Regions from separate parts of the Homo sapiens genome. Here regions 1, 2, 3 and 5 are each linked to region 4. Evidence: promoter capture Hi-C in 16 types of primary human blood cells and fetal thymus (Javierre and others, 2016). All regions are on one chromosome and are shown on one strand. The core of a region is centred on a gene start or on the middle of the fragment in contact, and the rest is flanking DNA. Distances in the headings are between cores, read along the strand shown. Region 1 has its middle 55 kb from the start of RBM46. Region 2 holds the start of RBM46 (RNA binding motif protein 46). Region 3 overlaps RBM46 (RNA binding motif protein 46). Region 4 holds the start of MAP9-AS1 (MAP9 antisense RNA 1). Region 5 overlaps CTSO (cathepsin O).

Region 1 (2,700 bases), core at 39-2,538, 520 kb before region 4:
CTAGCAAAAGGAAGAAAATAAAGACTAAAGTAGAAATAAATAGAGGATAGAAAAGAAAAAACAAATCAGTTAAACCAAGACTTAGTTTTTGGAAAGATCAAGAAAATTGACAAACCGGTAACTAGACTAAGAAAAAAAGGGGACTCAATTATCTAAAATTAGAAATAAACGAGGGAAAACTACAACAGATGTCACATAAATAAAAATAATTACAAAAGACTAACTGCTATAAACAATTACACACTAACAAACTGGCCAAACTAGAAGAAATGGATAATTTATAGAAACAAAACCTACCAAGAGTGAGTCATGAATAAATTAAAAATCTGAACAGACCTATAACTAGTAAGGAGAATGAGACAGTAATCAAAAACCTCTCAAAAAGAAAAGCCCAGGACCAGATGGCTTTACTGAAGGATTCTATTAAACATTTAAAGAAAAATTAGGGCTGGGCATGGTGGCTCATGTCTACAATCCAAGAACTTTGAGAGTCTGAGGTGGGAGGATCACTTGAGCAAAGCAATTTGAGAGCAGCCTGAGCTATATGGTGAGACCTCCATCTCTACAAAAAAATAATTTAAAAATTAGCCAGGTGTGGTGGCACCTGTCCCTGTGATCCTAGCTACTTGGGAGGCTGAGGTGGGAGGATAGCTTGAGCTTGATAGGTTGAGGCTACAGTGAGTTGTGATCATGCCACTGTACTCCAACCTGGGTGACAGAGTGATACTCTGCCTTAAAAAAGTTGTAAACAGGCCGGGCATGGTGGCTCACGCCTATAATCCCAGCACTTTCGGAGGCCAAGGTGGGCGGATCAGGAGATCAGGAGATCGAGACCATCCTGATTAACATGGTGAAACCTTGTCTCTTCTAAAAATACAAAAAATTGGCTGGGCGTGGTGGTGGGCAACTGTAGTCCCAGCTACTTGGGAGGCTGAGGCAGGAGAATGGCATGAACCCGGGAGGCAGAACTTGCAGTGAGCCAAGATCGCACCACTGCACTCCAGCCTGGGTGACACAGCAAGACTGCGTCTCAAAAAAAAAAAAAAAAGAAGAAGAAGTTGTAAAGAAAAATAATTAACATCAATCCTCAGATTATCTGGAAGAATTAAAGAGGAGGGAATCCAAACTAATTTTATGAGGCCAACGTTACCCTTGTACCAAAACCATCAAAAGACACCAAGAAAACTACAGTACAATATCCTTGATGGATACTGATGCAAAATTTGTAAACAAAATACTAGCAAAGTAAATTCAACAGCACATTAAAAGGATCATACACCATGACTGCAGGGATCTGTCCTGCAGACCCCAGCTGCATAACGGATGAGATACGTACTCAGACACCAATGTTCAGTGAAAGAGTGGGCCAGGGGGCTGCCAGCACTGGCAGCCAAAGAGAGTTTGCAGCCCCTCCAAGCTGGCAACCATTTATTTACTACAGATTTAATTGACAAAGGCTTTGAGTGAACACACCTGTGGGTAATTAACCTGGTCGCCCCCACCCAGGAGAGGGCCATTCTGCCTGTGAATGATCAAAGGTTGATTTTAGGACCACATGAGTAAACAAGCTATTTAGATGAACTACTCTACATTCCTTTGTATCTGCACCCCAAGCTATTAACTCTAGGTAAGGATTAGGCTGCTTTCAGCCATAACCCTATCCTGAGACTTTTGCAAAACCTTCCAGCCTTCCAAGAAGGTTTGTGTCTATATCCTATAACTTCATCTTAAAATTTTTCCCACCAGCTTGACCGAACTCCCACATCTCCCTCTTCCCTGTTTTTTTTTTGCATCAGGTTCTGTTGATTGAAGCATGCAGATATGTGCAACAACAGGTCTGTGGGGCGAGGCAGTCATTGCTCTTATTCTGGCATTGCATCCTAGAATTAGCAAATAACATAAGACAGTCATGAGTAAAATTAGCAACATTCTTTTCCAATCAAGGAACGACCTGCAGCATTGCTTGGCGCTTCAGTTTGATGTGTGCTGTTACTAAGGAACCTCACTGGGGATAAGTTAACCCCTTCCAGCCAAGCAGTCTCATTGTTAGAAGCTGGGAAGGAAGTGTCTGCCCAGATAACAGGGCTGAAAAATGGCAGGTTTAGAAGATGAGCTTAATTGAGTGTAGCAGGTATAGGTAGCAGGCACAGGGAGAGAATAAAAAAGGAATACATTATCTGGAGTGAATGGTGCCTGTTCCCGGAGCAGGATTTGCTCAGTCTTCTGACTTGTCTTCTTCAGTATAATGTCTGGGGCCTGTGTTGTTTGAGGAAGCCGCATCCTCCGGGGATGCAGGTCCTGTAGGGTCAGTTCCTTCATTTCTGGTACCGGCTTGGTTCCTAGCCATGCCATGGTGTGGTTTGATGCGTCATGCTGGAATCCAAAGAGGACCTGAGGGGGTGTAGACACAAGCATACCCTCTTCCCCAAGTTAACAGTTCATTTGGACCACACCGTACATTGCTGTTTACATCTTTCAATAAAACTGCAGGTTTTATGTCTTGAGAGGTTTCAGCAAAGTGCTTTTCTACAGCTGATTGAAATTTATCATCTAAATTTAGAAAATTAAGGGTAAATAAGACTTGCGCCAATAGTGTTGCAGGGTCTTTACTCACACTCCCCCTTTTTTATTTTTTGAGCATATTTTTAAGGGTTGAATGGGTACGTTCTCCTATGGCCTGTCCTTGGGGGTTATACGGGA
Region 2 (2,700 bases), core at 51-2,550, 570 kb before region 4:
CAAGTTTTCTACTTGTTTCTGGACGTATTTTGAGACAGTATAGTATAGCAATTATGTCTGTAGGTTTCAAACTGGAGCCACTTACTTGCTATATGACTTTGCCCAAACTACTTAAGGTTTCTGCATCTGTTTCCCCGTCTGCAAAGTAGGGCTAGTAACTTTACCAAAGTTACTGTGAGAATTAAATGAAAATATGAAAAGTCCTTAGGATTGTTTCTGGCATCTGGCTCAATATTTGGTAATATCATATATTATTTTATTCTCACAATCCCCACTTTAAACAGGGTCTGTCTGGCTCCAAAGTCCCTGCTAATTCCTCACTGTTGTAGTATATTTAAAAATTAAAAATATACTTTAACAAAATTTAAATTGGTAGACATTCATTAGTTCCTTGAATATATGGAGAAAATACATTAGGAGTTAATGTGGAAGAAATCACCTTGAGGTTGGGAATAAGGAGATCTGTGTTACTCGGTGAATATTCTGGGCATGAAGTTCCTTGTTAATTAGAGAATCAACATGAGCTAGGTTCTTTATTGTCTAATATTCCATGAATCTAATATTATCTATACATAAATAGTTGGTTCCTAAAGGTGGTTTTTTCTTTCCTTGTCTGCATTTAATTTCGAGCTGTCTTCAAAGGAAGCAAAACTGAAGTTATGCATACCGAATGCCAAACAACCCTATCTGTGAAAGTTGGTTTTACAAGAGCATAGAACCCAGTTCGGCAGTTCGCCTCTGCCAAATGTCCCTGCAAGCTGATTAGTGGTAGCGTCAAGCCTATCGCTAGTTCTCCTCATCTAACCCATTTTCTTAGTCATTGTCATTTAAACCACTTATACTTTATACTTCTAGTCCTATTTGCAAATCCATCTTTTAGCTTTATAACCCACCTCCCCCTAGCCCTTAATTTCAAAGGTCCACCGGATATATGTGGTTGTTTTGCGCCAAACTAGCAGTTTACAAGAAAACTACATCAAACAAGAAAAAGAACCATTACGATGCATCTATGTTTTCCCTTAAGTGCGGAATTTCACACTGCAGCCCTCGTCTTCAAACACCTAAACAATGCACCTAGGACCTTCATTTATTATTCCGTGCCCACCCACACCCTAAAAATCGCTCTCTTCACCCCAATTGCTCGAAATGCCTGTCACTCCAAGCACTTTGACTAGCCCAAGAGCCTCATTTAAACTTTAGCCCCACTCTCTCCTCCTCGCCCCGCCCCGAAGCTAATCCCTGATTGGATGAGGCACCACTCCTCGTGGGGCTGCTTAGGCCACCGCGCGCGCTGCGCGCTGGGAAACGAGTGGAGACACGAGGACCAGCGCGAGCGGTCCCGGTGGGCTACCCTCCCCCTGCGACGACCCCCCCTCGCTCTGACCGACTGGTCCCCTAAACGGTGGCGGCGGTTTTTGGTCGTTGGGCCCCGGGATTTAGGACCAACATTTGAAGACCCGAAGGGGTGAGGAGGGGAAAGGGGAAACGGGGTCACTACCAGACCACTGCTAACGGCTGGATAGTGCCCGGCTCACTCTCACGCCGAATACACAGTGGGGGCTGGCGGCGGTGGCTGCGGGGTTCACCCTCGTCCTTCCCCAGCCCCGTCGAGCAGTGGGAGGGCAAGTGTCCGAGACGCTGCTTCCTGCCCCGGCAGCATCCGGCCAGAAGGCGCCCTCGCCGTCACCCAGGCGCTGCATGGTGAGGGCCCAGCGGCCAGTCTCTTTGGGGCGTCTGGCGGCCTCTTCCGCCCCGCGGCGCCCTGCGCTCTCCGCCTTATTTCCGCTCTCCCCCGCTGCCTTCCGGCCGCTTCCCACCTGTGCTGCATTTCGTGTTATTTTCCTGACACGCTTACGCCGACGACCAACGACCGCTGCAGGCCCGGGCCGCTGCCTGGCCGTTGTAGGGTCCGCGCGTCCCCTGGAGGCTTTGGACGCCGTCTGGGGCGTCCCGACGGCTGGGTGAGATTCAGCAGTCTGGTTTCAGAATTGAATTCAGGCTGGGTGAGCTTTAGCGGGCTCCTAGTCGTTTGCGTGGAGTTCTAGCCGGGACTGAGCCTCGAACTTTACTTTGCCTTTGTCTCCCTGTTTCTTCCCCGAGTACCTCGTGTGTGCTGGGCTGTGGGCAGTGGGAGGCCGCGGGTGCACAGGGAAGATAGCTCGCCTCTCCCCCGACACACGGACGGCAGCACACGTCGTGGCACCGCCTTTGTTTCCTAACATCTGGTAGTTTTTAAACCCCTAATTTAAAAATGTTTCTTTGGAGCTGCTGGAAAAACCACAGAACCAGCGGCATTTAATCCTGGCGTTGATATTCTGAGATATTGCGAAGCTGCTTGATTTATTTGGGCACCAGTTTTCTCCTATGTAAATTTAGCTTAGGTAATATTTAAGTTCTTTAAGCTTTAACTGTCTTTACATTCTTGATAAATTCCCCGTAACCTTTATGTTATGTGGTAATCCTAATATAGGCAAATATCAAAGAGGAAATATCATAAGGAGTTTTTTTGTTTTGTTTTTTGTTTTGTTTTGAGACGGAGTCTCGCTCTGTCTCCCAGGCGGGAGAGCAGTGGCAGGATCTCGGCTGACTGCAACTTCCGCCTACCGGGTTCAAGCGATTCTCCTGCCTCAAACTCTCGGGAGTAGCTGGGACTACAGGCGCGCGCCACCACGCACAGCTGATTTTTGTATTAGTAGAGAC
Region 3 (2,700 bases), core at 61-2,560, 560 kb before region 4:
GCCTGGGTGACAAAGTGAGACTCTGTCTCAAAAAATGAAATAAATATCTGATAAAATCTTCAAGTCTTAGTGACTGATGAGCTGTGCATCAAAGGACTCTGGGATAACACCCAGATTTCTGGTTGTGAGAGTTTGGAAGAGAGGAAATATGTTTGTTGGGGTGCCATTTATTGGTTGAATGTAAGCCACAGGAAAATCCAGTTGGCTTAGATGATAAAATGATTTAAATTTTGGGCTATGTAGATTGGCAGGTATATTCATTGATGGCTTACATTTTGTTGTTACTCTGTTTGCTTTCCTTTTTCTTCTCTTTCACTTAATTTTGTTTTTTCATTCTTTGTTGCTTTCTCTTTTTCATTGTTTGTGTCCCTTTCTTATAGCTTAGGCCTTCTAAAGGTACTGCATAATTGGTCAGTGACATTGAAAGAAGTTTCCAAGTTTCCACTGTAGGGAAGAGCTTTGGGGCAGAACCTCAGAGGACAGTGAAGGCTAATCAAACATGCCAGCCACAACTGTCTTTGTTTTTCTGCAACCCAAAGAAATGCCTTATAGATTCTTGGTATTCTGTTGTAAACTTAACCAGTGTTATTAAACTTTATTTTAGGAACTGCAACCATGAATGAAGAAAATATAGATGGAACAAATGGATGCAGTAAAGTTCGAACTGGTATTCAGAATGAAGCAGCATTACTTGCTTTGATGGAAAAGACTGGTTACAACATGGTTCAGGAAAATGGACAAAGGAAATTTGGCGGTCCTCCTCCAGGTGTGGATTTGTTTACAGTCTTTTAAATTTAATCTTTAACCTCGTCATGTAGATTAGATGTGTATCCCCACAAGTATTCCAAACAATAGCTCTCTCCTTGTAACTGCTTTAAGACATTTTTTTTTTTACTGTTGAGGAGAGTTAAATTATAAATGTTATTCATGTCTTACCATTACATTTTTTCAGCCCTGCTCTTCATCTAAGAAGCAGTTGAGAAAGAAGCTGGGCTAGGTTGAGAAAGAAGTCAGGATTAGGAAAGTAGGAAAAAGGGTGCTACTCTAGGTGTTAAAGAGGAGATCATCTGGGGAGGAATTTGAAACAGCAGTGAGTAAGTGAGTGGTGTTTAAACTAGAAAACCAAATGGAAACAGGTAAATAGAATGTTCGACTTTTCTACCAATAGTCAGTACAATTCCTTTGCCCGAAACCCTTCAGTTTATCACACTTAAAATAAAAATCTGGCTTCTGGGTACCTCAATGGCTGTAGCACTTACCACTTTCTTCCTTTCTCACGTACATGTTAGCTGTACAGGCTTCCATAATCTATGTTGCTCTGACATAAAAGCGCTTGCTTTTTCTTCTTTCCAAATGCCCTTTTCCCAGATAATCCTCATGGCTCACTCCCTCATTCTATTCAGGTCTCTGCTTAAATCTCACGTACCCAGAGATTTGCCTGACCACTCCCTTGATTTTCTTCGTAGCACTTAACCACTCACTTGTTATCTCCCTTCTCTATTGAATATTAGCTTCATAAGGGAAGGGGCTTTATTTTGTCCACTGTTGTATCACCAATACCTAGAATTGTGAGTGGCACATAGCACAGCAAATTTGTTGAATGAATATATGATTGAATAGTGAGTACAAATATCCAATTAGAATTTATGTGTCTTTTCATTTTTGTCGTTCAGGTTGGGAAGGTCCACCTCCACCTAGAGGCTGTGAAGTTTTTGTAGGAAAAATACCTCGTGATATGTATGAAGATGAGTTAGTTCCTGTATTTGAAAGAGCTGGGAAGATATATGAATTTCGACTTATGATGGAATTTAGTGGTGAAAATCGAGGTTATGCTTTTGTGATGTACACTACAAAAGAAGAAGCCCAATTAGCCATCAGAATTCTTAATAATTATGAAATTCGACCAGGGAAGTTTATTGGTGTGTGTGTAAGCCTGGATAATTGTAGATTATTTATTGGAGCTATTCCCAAGGAAAAGAAGAAAGAAGAAATTTTAGATGAAATGAAGAAAGTTACAGAAGGAGTTGTAGATGTCATTGTTTATCCAAGTGCAACTGATAAGACCAAAAATCGTGGTTTTGCATTTGTGGAATATGAATCTCACAGAGCTGCTGCTATGGCAAGGAGGAAACTAATTCCAGGTAAACTGAAAGGTTGTTTTTCAATATTAACATTATTACAAATATGGAGAGATGATAGTACATCAGGGATCAATATTATCAAAATACTAATGTCACTTAAAGAAGAGTAAAGAATTGTTTGAGTAATGAAGTAAAATAAATTACATGATTCTAAAAGACAAGAAATTGTTCCAGTAAAATGAGTCCTATTTATGATATTTTTACTGGATATATACACTTTGAGCTGTTAATTGTTGTTTAATAAAAATCCAAAGGGCAACACTTAATTCTTCTGATAAAGATCTATCTTTGAAGTGTATTTGTTCTATTGACTCTGAAATTACATAGTAAGTTTTAGTTATTTACTTTAGTAAAAATTTTTGTGTGAATAGGAAACAAATGCTTAACCAAATTTATTGATGTGTAGTTGAGTTTCTGCTTCTCTGGGGAAACAGTTTTACTGAACATCTTTACCTTTTATTCTTTATTTTAATTCTCTTCAAATTATTATTTTTTTTTTACAGGAACATTCCAACTATGGGGCCACACCATTCAGGTAGATTGGGCTGACCCAGAGAAA
Region 4 (2,700 bases), core at 129-2,628:
TAAATAAATTTTATAAAATCCTGAAGTGTTACTATAATTTAAAATATATCAAAATATTTATGATTTTGGATTACCATTTCTCAACAGCAGTTAAATTATCTTTCTTTTTCTCGGCAACAGTTTCCTCCTCTTTCTGTTTCTTTGCTCTTTCATATTCTCTCTCCTTTCTATTTTTCTCTTTAAGATATTCCATCTTTTTCTCTTTCCATTTTTCAAAAGCCTGAAAAAGTTCAGAATAATTTTCTTACTGTGAATATTTGAAAATAAATAAAAATATGGTTAATCATTAATTTGGATTTCAAATGTTTTAAAATAATTAAGATGTGCAAAGTTCTGAATACTTGTAGTGCTTCTCCTTTTCTTGCAGCATTTTCTTCTTCAGTTTTCTTCTTGTTTTTTTCTTCAAGCCTCTTTTTGGCAGCTATTTTCTTTGCTTCCTTTTCTTTCATAGCCTTCCAGGCCTCAAATGATGCTAATGCTTCTTCTCTTTTAGCAGCTTTTTTCTACAGTGGAAAAAATAATAGAGTGATATACATATATATGTATATATACATAGACACAAATATGGCTAGATATAAATATACACATATACATTTATCTTTAGTCCTCTGATATTCATTATACTTAGAAATTAACTTTCAAAGTAGGTAATTTATTTAGAATGGCTTAGATAATTTACAAAGAATGTTATCTGAATTATTCATTGGTTTTAAAACGTCCTTTTCTAAAAACATTTATCACATATTGACCTATTAATGAGAAAGATGTCAACTATTATTTTTGAAAGTGTACTAAACAAATTATATCAAAATAAACTGTAATAGGCTAAGTGGTATAGTAAAATTTTCATAATAAAATATTTGAAAAAAAAATCAGTAAAGTTATGGGCTTATAAAGTAAGTTAGAGTAAGGCAAATTGGCCAAGCCATGCAGTAAGATGCAGATTTTTGGTTTAAATCTTAATTTTGAATAGTATCAAAACATAAAGTTCTTACTGCACAAATGTATTCCAAATGTTGAAAGTATGTGCTCGACTGAAAAATAGGTTGGAGACTGTATAGCAAGTTATGTTATTATTTTACTTCCTTCAATCTAATCCCATAATATTCTATGTTTGCTTTATTGTTCAATATTAAATGACATAAAACCTTAATATTGGGGTAACATAATTTAGAGGTCAAAGTACTATCTACCTCACAGAGCTACGAAAATCAAATGAGAAGGGGTATGGCACTGACCACAGCAGCATACTGCTATGAACGTGGTTAACAGATAGACAGGCACGCCCCCTGGAGGGCTGCTCCCTTCACTACTGACGCATTATCGTGCAGTTCACCTTGGAAAATATTTTTCTTCTAAATCTATTTTTAGTATTGAACAGCACACTGGAGTTTTTGTCCAGAAGTTTGACTTTAGAAGATAAGAAATAACTGAGCGTATTACAAGCAGGAGTTAGAGGAAGAGACTCAGTACAGAAGAGACAGGAACAAAAGTTCACCTCCATTCAATGGGAAAGGATACAGATCAAGAGTTCAGGTAGGGGTTGGACTTGAAGATACTTATAAAATTCAAGAGAGAAAAGAGGAAAATTGAAGGCTAACTAGTGTCTAATGATCCTTTATCTTGTCGTGCCTTTTTTTTTTTTTTTGAGACAGAGTCTCTGTCACCTAGGCTGGAGTACAGTGGCACGATCTCAGCTAACTGCAACCTCCGCCTCCCGGGTTCAAGTGATCCTGCCACCTCAGCCTCCTGAGTAGCTGGGATTACAGGTGCCCACCACCATCCCTGGCTAATTTTTGTATTTTTAGTAGAGATGGGGTTTCACCACATTGCCCAGGCTGGTGTCGAACTCCAGACCTCAAGGAATCCCATCTGCCTTGGCCTCCCAAAGTGCTGGGATTACAGGCATGAGCCACAGTACCTGGCCTTCTTGGTTAAGTTCTAAATGAAATCAACTTTTAAAAGTGAATTAGGTGCTCATAAACAATAATAACTTCATAATCAGCAGGAACAAAGCTATCCTATACATATACAAAATTAAAATCTGTTTTCATGTAAAACAGTTATATCAAACTAAAATGTATAAAGTAAAACAGAAGTAAAACCGGAAATCATTTCTTTAATATACAAGTTATTTTGCCATTTAAAAAGCTGATTTAGAAAAGTTATATATTCAGGGATATTTTACTGAAATAAAAATCCAAAACATTTTTACTTCTATATGTCAGAATACCTGTTCATTTTGGATCCTTAAGTTTTCACTTTCAATTCTTTTTATTCTGTGCATTTCATGTAAATACACATTTTTCTTTTCTAACCACTCCTATAAGAACAAGAAAAAGGTCATATAATATTTAAAATTTCTTAAGTGAATTAGAATTCTTTATATTAACATTTTCTCTGAAATTCACATGTACAATTTTCTAAAGTATACTATTCTACTCTAAAAAAGACAAAAAAAGACTTTTAGAATTGTGAATAAATTAATACAATCTTTTTCCTATGTACGCCTAACAACATCTCAGGAAAGAAAAAATTTAATAACTTTTTGTTCATAATAACTCCTTTTGTTCATATAAACTTCAAGAAGAAAAAAATGAAAACATATATAGACTTTACAATGTTTTGGCTTGTGCTGTATTTCTATAAATTGCAATGGCATATTCTTTCTTTAAAAACAACTATGGTCAGTTATGCAAA
Region 5 (2,700 bases), core at 199-2,698, 600 kb after region 4:
ATTTTGAAGTTTCATAGGATAAATCATAAATTGTACACATAGATTTAAAATGTTCTCCTTAGGAGTGCTTTCGTTTCTGGAAATTGCAGTAAAGCTGAGGATGAGCAAAAAAGGTAAAATATTTGTATACAAAGAGCATCACTGAGAATTTCTTGGAAGACTTAGGAGTTGTAAACTTTAGATCAGTGATTCTCAACTGAGGATAATTTTGTCCCTCATTTGTCATACTGGGGATTGTCATACTGGTGGGATGCCACTGGCATCTGGTGCATAGAGCCCATGCATGCTGCTACTCACCCTACAATGAAGAGGAAGGTCCCCCACAACAAATCACTATCCATTCTCAAATGTCAATAGTGCCACTGTTGAGGAGCCTTGGATTAGAACAATAAAAGCTTTTTAAGGATACACTTTTATAAAGTACAGCTTTTGAAAAGTTTCTTAGACAAAGTATTTTCTATACAGTGTACTGAAGTGTGTGTAAACATATTGCAGATATATGTTTACTATGTATGATAAGAAATGTGTAGTCAGGATTTGTGTGAGCATGTACACAAAAAGATTGAATTAAAAATACATTCTTTTGTGAACTACTTGGGAGAATCTATTTCTCCAGTGTATAAGTCTTTACATTCTTTTTATTTACAGGAAAATGTTTATTTACAGGATACAATGCTTAAACATAACGATATTCATTTTTTGTGTACATTTCTTACAGGACAGCACGCGTCTTATTCTCCACTGTATCCCTCAGAAAACCCAGACCAGTTCTTTAGACACAGTGGAAATTAAATAAAGTATTGGATAAATGTATGGGAAGATGAATAAATTATAACCTATGATTTTAAGTTTATGATATATTTCCATTTAGTCAATGTATGCTTTAAGTGAGATTCATCAGAAAAAGTCTGCTGAACAACCTTATCTAACATCAAATTCGTGTTTTCATCTTTATATAAGGTAGAACAGGAGTCTCAAAACCCTGGGCCATGGACCAGTACTGTTCTGTGGCCTGTTAACGACCAGGCTGCACAGCAGGTGGTGAGGGGCCTGCGAGCATGCATCACCACCTGATCTCCACCTTCTGTCAGATCGGCAGCAGCATTAGATTATCATAGGAGCACAAACCCTACTGGGAACGGTGCATGTAAGGGATCTAGTTTGCACAGTCCTTATGTGAATCTAATGCTTGATGATCTGGGGTGGAACAGCTTCATTCTGAAATCATCCGCATCCTCCTCACCCCACCCCCACACCCCAGTCCGTGGAAAAATTGTCTTCCATGAAACCAATCCCTGGTGCCAAAAAGTTTGGGGACCACTGAGGTAGAAAATAGGTTTTAAAGCTTTCTTGGATAAAGCCTATTTGGAGGACCTAATTCCAGATTTCAAGGGGCTGATTACGGCAAGCACATATAAGTGGCTCATTAGTTAGGATCACTTGTTATAAAGATGCTATGGCCATCTATTTACACATAAATAAATATTCCTAAATATATAAATAATCTTATAATAATATAACCTGTGTCATTACGGCAACTGGTCTTAAGGTAAAGCTTTGGAAATTTTATGTAAAATCACATGTACTTTGGCATAGATATTATTCTAAAGTGAGTGTATCAAGCAAATTTTATTGGATCCAATATTGGGTCTGTGCCTCCCAAAAGGATAAGAATACCAAATGTTCTGTGGTAAAATAATGAGCATCAGTAAATATGAGGGCATAGCTAGGTTTTGGCACAAAGGAGAGTAGGCTAAATCCAATAGTTAAGAGCTTCCTGAGCACTGGAAGTTTCTAAAGGAGTGAAAGTGCAGAGATAAGGGGTGCCATCCAAAGTCAGGTGTCTTGTGAGGCATCCCATAATAAACCATAGTGGAGTCTAGTTTTCACTGAACAATACTATAATATTTTGTGGGAAAGTCATGGGCTAACCTAACTTTCATTTAACGTGCATTCCTGGGAAACTTACAAAACTATCTAAGGCTAAGATTAAAACAAATTTTAAAACCTTCACCATTCTCTAAACCCATGACCATGAAAGACATTACTAATTAATCAAGGACTTTCTTGAACCAGATCTTCAGCTGCAAACCCCTGAATCATCAATTCACCAATGAATTAACTTGATTTCAACAAGAAGTTTCACGGTTACCAAGGAGGCAAGGCCCTTTCCACCTTTCCCACTGTCCAGCTCTCTATCCCAAGTCCGAACAGCAATCTCCAGCTAACTAATCTAACTAATTCCTGATGATCTTAGATGAAAGACTTTCATCCCAAATCCATCCATCTCCCCCACTTCCCTCCTCCCGTCCATGGAAAAAATGTCTTCCATGAATCCGGTCCCTAGTGCCAAAAGATTGGGGACCACTAAGGTAGAAAATCGGTTTTAAAGCATTCTTGGATAAAGTCCAACTAAGCACCGAGAGGTGTTCAGTTTCCAGCAACTGTGCGTTGAAGCCTCAATGTTCTCTTTTTTGGGTATCCATCTCATGAAGCAAATTCTTACAGGCAGCAATTGCTTTGAAAATTTTTTCAGTATTTCTTAACCCGAGGTTTTTAAAATGTACTAAGAGTCTTCATAATTCGATCCTCCTCCACTTCCAACTTTCCATCTTTCAACCTGTTTCTTTGTATTTCTCCTGAGAAAAGTTACATTTTCTAGACATTCATCAGGGTATGGCCTCTTTACAGGACCAGTAT

Evidence for each region. The method cuts DNA at HindIII sites, captures the fragments that hold promoters and counts their contacts. A CHiCAGO score of 5 or more calls a contact.
Region 1: a fragment that was not itself captured here is called in contact with the fragment with the promoter of MAP9-AS1 in region 4 in 1 of 17 cell types (erythroblasts); the score reaches 5.3 in erythroblasts.
Region 2: a contact is called between the fragment with the promoter of RBM46 here and the fragment with the promoter of MAP9-AS1 in region 4, in 4 of 17 cell types (megakaryocytes, M2 macrophages, erythroblasts and 1 more). The highest score is 8.9, in megakaryocytes.
Region 3: a fragment that was not itself captured here is called in contact with the fragment with the promoter of MAP9-AS1 in region 4 in 2 of 17 cell types (endothelial precursors and megakaryocytes); the score reaches 9.2 in endothelial precursors.
Region 5: a contact is called between a fragment that was not itself captured here and the fragment with the promoter of MAP9-AS1 in region 4, in 2 of 17 cell types (total CD8 T cells and fetal thymus). The highest score is 7.2, in total CD8 T cells.

What each region holds. Positions count from the first base shown.
Region 1 is chr4:154,834,717-154,837,416 of GRCh38, forward strand. No RefSeq gene overlaps it. Among named protein-coding and RNA genes, the nearest start is that of RBM46, 55 kb to the left of the region's middle. The HindIII fragment of the contact is 7,592 bases long and covers 1-2,700 here.
Region 2 is chr4:154,779,972-154,782,671 of GRCh38, forward strand. RBM46 (RNA binding motif protein 46) reads left to right here and starts at 1,301. Exons shown (of 5, transcript NM_144979.5): 1 at 1,301-1,465. LOC105377500 (a long non-coding RNA gene) reads right to left here and starts at 1,902. Exons shown (of 4, transcript NR_188451.1): 1 at 1,818-1,902. The HindIII fragment of the contact is 3,692 bases long and covers 1-2,400 here.
Region 3 is chr4:154,796,138-154,798,837 of GRCh38, forward strand. RBM46 (RNA binding motif protein 46) reads left to right here. Exons shown (of 5, transcript NM_144979.5): 2 at 605-766; 3 at 1,674-2,141; 4 at 2,645-2,700. The coding sequence starts at 616. Among named protein-coding and RNA genes, the nearest start is that of RBM46, 16 kb to the left of the region's middle. The HindIII fragment of the contact is 3,687 bases long and covers 1-2,700 here.
Region 4 is chr4:155,352,838-155,355,537 of GRCh38, forward strand. It overlaps MAP9-AS1 (MAP9 antisense RNA 1), which reads left to right and starts at 1,379. Exons shown (of 3, transcript NR_125937.1): 1 at 1,379-1,536. MAP9 (microtubule associated protein 9) reads right to left here. Exons shown (of 14, transcript NM_001039580.2): 10 at 2,234-2,323; 11 at 342-503; 12 at 75-220. The HindIII fragment of the contact is 4,107 bases long and covers 1-2,700 here.
Region 5 is chr4:155,949,606-155,952,305 of GRCh38, forward strand. The region is part of intron 1 of CTSO (cathepsin O); the gene reads right to left. Among named protein-coding and RNA genes, the nearest start is that of CTSO, 2.9 kb to the right of the region's middle. The HindIII fragment of the contact is 210 bases long and covers 1,344-1,553 here.